Regions from separate parts of the Homo sapiens genome. Here region 1 is linked to region 2. Evidence: promoter capture Hi-C in human tissues and cell types (Jung and others, 2019). All regions are on one chromosome and are shown on one strand. Each heading gives the region's core, a stretch centred on a gene start or on the middle of the fragment in contact. The rest is flanking DNA. Distances are from core to core; before and after follow the strand shown.

Region 1 (2,713 bases), core at 5-2,504, 38 kb after region 2:
GCGTATGTATGTAAGTGTAATTTCATCACAAATATCACAAGACTCATAAGTTGTGGTTATTTTTTCTTATTTCTAGAAGTCTGCAAAGTGGATGATCAACTAGAGCACTGTCAGGAAATCCAGGACAGACATATCTGGCAAGCTCCATATATCAACAATAGAACACTGACTATAGAGAGAGGTAACATAGTAGGAAAAGTGTTTGATTTCAGCATACACCAACTTCCTTCCATAAAAATACCTTGTAAATGTGACTTATGTGGTATGAGTTTGCAATACATTTCAGATTTATTTAATAGTAAGAAAAACTATTTAAGAAAGATGCCTCATGACCTCAGTGCATATGGAAAACTATTCCTCAATAGTAACCATGAAAAAACTCATATGGAAGAGAAACCTTATGAGTTTATTCAAAATGGAAAATGTCTCAGTCATAAGGAGGACTTCATTTCATATCTGAGAATTCAAAATTTAGAGCAATCTTTTGAATATAAGGAATGTGAAAAGGATTTCTATGGAAAGGCAGTTTTCATTACATATAAGCAAGCTTACACAGGAGCGAGTCCTTGTGTACACAATGAATGTAATAAAGTGTTCTGTAATAATTCAACTCTCATGGTCCATAAAATGTCAGAAAAAAGAGAAAACTTTTATGAGTTTAATGAATATGAAAAAACCTTTGAGAAGTCCCCTTTCTTGAAACATAAAGTTCATTTGGAGGTGAAACACTATAAACATATTGAAAGTGTAGGAATTTTAACAGATCAAGCTTTCCTAACACAAGAGAGAAAATATTTGAAAGTAACAAATCAGGGGAAGCTTTGTGCGAGAAGTCAGTACTTAATGTAACTCAGAGAACACACAGAGGAGAGGAAGTCTGTGGATGTGAGCCATGTGTAAAACCATTCTATGAAAAGTCAAAGCTAACCAAACATCAAAGAATCCATACAGGGGAGAAACCCTATGAATGTAATAAATGTGAAAAATGCTTTTCTAGGAAATCTCTCCTCACTCTACATCAGAGAGTCCACACAGGAGAGAAACCCTATGTAAGGAATGTGGGAAATGCTTTTCTAGGAATTCACACCTCATAATACATCAGAGAACTCACACAGGAGAGCAACCCTGTGAATGCAAGGAATGTAGAAAAAGCTTCTATCATAAGTCATATCTTACAGTACATCAGAGAATTCACACAGGGGAGAAACCCTATGAATGTAATCAATGTGGAAAAACCTTCATAAGCAACTCTGTTCTCACAATACATCGTAAAACATATACAGGTGAGAAACCCTATGAATGTAATGAATGTGGGAAATCTTTCTCTAGGAGTTCATATCTTACAATACATCAGAGAACTCACCCAGGCGAGAAACCCTATGAATGTAAGGTATGTAGCAAAACCTTTTGCCACAAGTCTGATGCCACTAAACATCAGAAGACTCACCTAGGGGGAAAACCCTATGAATGTACTCAATGTGGGAAAACTTTTAGTCGTAACTCAGGCCTAAAAGTACATCAGAGAACACATGCAAAGGAGAAACCCTATGAATATACTGAGTGTGGGAAATCCTTCTCTGAGAAATCAGTCCTCACAGTACATCAGAGAATACACACAGGGGAAAAACCTTATAAATGTAATGCACGTGGAAAAACCTTCTACAATAAATCAGACCTAACCAAACATCAGAGAACACACACAGGTGAGAAGCCCTGTGAATGTAAGGAATGTGGGAAATTCTTCTCTAGGAATTCATACCTTACAATACACCAGAGAATGCATACAGGAGACAAACCCTATGTGTGTAAAAAATGTGGGAAAACCTTCTACCATAAGGCAGACTATACAGTACATAAGAGAACACACAGAGGGGAGAAATCTTATTACTGTAATAAATGTGGGAAAACCTTTATTTGCAACTCAGTCCTCAAATCACATCAGAGAACACACACAGGGGAGAAGCCCTATGGATGTAATGAGTGTGGGAAGTCCTTCTCTGAGAAATCAGTCCTTACTGTACATCAGAGAATACACACAGGGGAAAAACCTTATAAATGTAATGAATGAGGGAAGTCCTTCTATCATAAGTCAGATCTCACTAAACATTAGAGAACACATACAGTAGAGAAACCCTATGAATGTAATCAGTGTGGGAAAAGCTTCAGTTGCAGCTCAGGCCTCAAAGTACATCAGAGAAGTACAAGGGAGAAACCCTATGAATGTAACCAGTGTGGGAAACCCTCTGAGAAATCAAGTCTCATAGCACATCCAAGGATACACATGGGAAAAAGCTTATAAATGTAGAAATGAGAGAAATCTTTCTCAAGCAATTCATACCTGAAAATACGTAGGAGAAATCAAATAGGACATGACCCCTGTGAATGTAAAGAATTTGGCAAACCTTTTACCATAAGTCATCTTCCAAAGTAAATAAGAGAATAGACGGGGAGGAGCCAAGATGGCCAAATAGGAACAGCTCCGGTCTACAGCTCCCAGGGTGAGCGACGCAGAAGACGGGTGATTTCTGCATTTCCATCTGAGGTACCGGGTTCATCTCACTAGGGAGTGCCAGACAGTGGGCGCAGGTCAGTGGGTGCGTGCACTGTGCGCGAGCCGAAGCAGGGCGAGGCATTGCCTCACTTGGGAAGCGCAAGGGGTCAGGGAGTTCCCTTTCTGAGTCAAAGAAAGGGGTGATGGACGGCACCTGGAAAA
Region 2 (2,896 bases), core at 31-2,530:
AAGGAGAGCTGAAGGATTAGAAAGGAAGAATGTCAGGAGAGCCTTCGCCGGCCTTGCAGTTCGGAGATTCACCTGCCTATACAGGTCCACACACAAGATACTTACGTGTCCATGTGTGGCTCCGATATATGCTGAGCTCAGACATGACACTTTTCACTGAGTGAATGTAAATATTTCTTATTGATTTATTACCAATTTAGGTTCTGTGACACAGAAAAATTAAAAACATGAAAAGATGAGTTTAACAAGTTAACAGTAATCTGAAGGAAAAAACACTATGGGTTTGTCAAAATTCCTTGTAGGGAAAAAAAAAAACTGAGGCCATATTGTTTATCTGTTTACCTGTTAACACCATTAATGCCCTGAGGTTAGATAATGCAAAAGACCTCTAAAAAAAGGGATAGGATGTTAAATGCAAGTTTAAAAATGTTTGTTCTAACTTGCTAACAATTCCTCAAAAGGATCTTTTAATGAGAAACTGTGATATAGAGTAACAAAATGGGCAGCAGTGGCTCGGGAAACTGCAGACTTGACTTCTAATCTCAGTTCTGCCTCTAAGGAATGACAAGATCTGAACTACTCACCTCCTCAAACTCAATTTTGTTTTTCCATCTTTCAAATAAGGTCAAAACAGATAACCCAAGTATGACCTGACTGCACTACCATCCGGCGGGGATATCAGGCCAAGAGAGGAGGAAGCTCAGCAGCTCATCTGGATGTGCCCGGTGTTCGCGGAGGGGTGATAACAGCATTTCTTTCGCTGTGGCCGTGAGCCTTTCACCCGTCCCTGCCCTCAGACTCTCCAGAGGTGACGTTCCTGTTAGCCTGCGCGCCCACCCCTCAGCTCCAGCTCACCTCTCTCTTCTTAAATTTGTCCCAGACCTTGCACCAGCACACAGACTCCGACGGCTTCAGGATACTGTGCCATGATTACACATAATACATAAGCGAACGCGAAACGTGTAAATAATTACTTGGGATAGGAGGGCGGTCAGAGCCAGCAGGGGCCCTGGTGGTCAGCTAGGCCAGCCCCTTCGCTCCTGCACTCCACGGGCAGAGAGGCCCTTGGGGCCGGTGCAGGAGCCGTCTCCCTCGGGCTCTCCCAGGGAACGCACACCCAATAAATACAGCACCTAAACAATGAAAGTGCTCAAAACAACCCCAGGCGGCAAGTATTCCTAATATCCGTAATTTACAGAGAGGAAAACCGAGTCTCCCGTGGATAATTGTGTCTAATTCATTTGTCGCGGACCTGGCGCAGTCGCTCTCCCCCGCAGCCCCGCCTCCTCCCCGCGGGCTCAGGGCACAAAAAGCGCACACGCACACATCAAACGCCATGCGCACGCGCACAACAAACGTCACACGCTACGCACGCGCGTGCTGTCCCCTCCCCGCAGCCAGTTCCCTCCCCTTCGGGCCAGTGCGCATTGCCTACCCCGTGCTACAGGACTTCGCTGAGCGCCAGGCGCAGGGACTGGACGCATACGGACCCCCGGGAGCCCCGGAACTCGCGTTCCCACGCCAGACCTCATCCCCTTCTGACAGAGACGCCCTCGTCCCACCGTCGCCGCAGGCGCCAGGGGTCCCTCCCCACCGCCGAGGTCTAGCCGCCGCCCGCCCGCCTTCAGGGCAGCGCGGGGACCCCCTGGCCCTCGCCCAGTGCTCCGGGGCTCACCCGCCGCTCCTCGCCGCCTCCGGAGGCGAGGGATTGTTTCCCACAAGGGACTGGAGTCCAGGGAAGGACTCGCCTGGAGCGGGAGGCGGGGATGCACATGCGCAGAGGGAGAGGCCGAGCGCCCGAGTTAGGCTGGTGGATGCGATGCGGGGCTTGGAAGCGGCGCTAGACGGTGCCTGTCAGCTCTGGCCGCAACCCTCAGTTGTAAAATGAGGCTGATAGTGCCTACCTAGCAGGGGTTTTATGAGAATTGGAGGCGCTTACGTTGTAAAAGCATTTAAACCGGTGTCTGACACATAAATTGTTCAGTATATTTCTCACAATTATATATCATGCTGGTCATCATAAGGCTCTCCTGCAAAACAGCCTTGTATAGTGGGTTGAGAGATTACTGTCTCAGTTACCCACTCCTGCTTGGAACCAGGATTCTGTCAGTGTCCCCAGAGGTTGTGGATCAAATCAATGTGCCTGTTAGACACAAGCCAAGAGAAGGAAAGGTGTGCTTGAATTCATTCACGATCATGCATGGTAACGTTTAACTGAAAGACTGGAAGAGAAAACTAAAATCTGTGACCAGTATGGTTATTCTCTGGAATAAGGAAAAACAGAAGCTAGCAATTCAAGACCCAAACATAAAATTGTTTATATGTTTAAAAAAAAAAAAGCCGTTTGAGTAACAAATTTGAAGAAGAAAGCACGCACTCATTTCCCAAAACCAACCATACTTTACCCAGAACTACACTACACGTACATTCTTTTACGTGCACATCTGGCATTTTCAGCACACTATGAGCATGTGCGTGTGTTACAACTTTTCATTTAAAAAATCAACTCCTGGGTCATTGTCCACTTTTTTAAACTTTTCATTTGCTCATAATTTCAGATTTACAGAAGAGTTGCAAAATAGTTCCTATATGCCTTTCACCCAGATTCCACTAGTGTTAGTATTTTACATGACCATGGTATATTTATCAAAACTAAGAAAATAACATAGGTACAAGTACTATTAACTGAACTGCAGAGTTTATTCAGACTTAAGCAGTTCTTCCACTAATGCCCTTTTTCTGTTCCAGCAACCAATCAAGGATATTGTCACCGGGGGTCCTTGCTCCCAGAGCTCCCAAGATGGTGGTGGGCTGCTTCCGAGATGGGGGCAAGCCTCATGTTCTCTGACCTGGGGTTCTTGGCCTCATGGATTACAAGGAATGGAATTTTGGGCTA

Evidence for each region. The method cuts DNA at HindIII sites, captures the fragments that hold promoters and counts their contacts. A contact is called where the count stands out against the background at its distance.
Region 1: a contact is called between a fragment that was not itself captured here and the fragment with the promoter of ZNF248 in region 2, in 2 of the 25 tissues and cell types used here (mesenchymal stem cells and mesendoderm cells).

Annotation. Positions count from the first base shown.
Region 1 is chr10:37,894,526-37,897,238 of GRCh38, forward strand. It overlaps the pseudogene ZNF33CP. Among named protein-coding and RNA genes, the nearest start is that of ZNF248-AS1, 38 kb to the left of the region's middle. RefSeq lists an enhancer at 2,698-2,713. The HindIII fragment of the contact is 3,993 bases long and covers 1-2,713 here.
Region 2 is chr10:37,856,330-37,859,225 of GRCh38, forward strand. ZNF248 (zinc finger protein 248) reads right to left here and starts at 1,281. Exons shown (of 6, transcript NM_021045.3): 1 at 856-1,281; 2 at 106-203; 3 at 1-8. It overlaps ZNF248-AS1 (ZNF248 antisense RNA 1), which reads left to right and starts at 1,420. Exons shown (of 2, transcript NR_186559.1): 1 at 1,420-2,172; 2 at 2,749-2,896. RefSeq lists an enhancer at 774-833 and silencers at 1,151-1,527, 1,224-1,773. The HindIII fragment of the contact is 12,949 bases long and covers 1-2,896 here.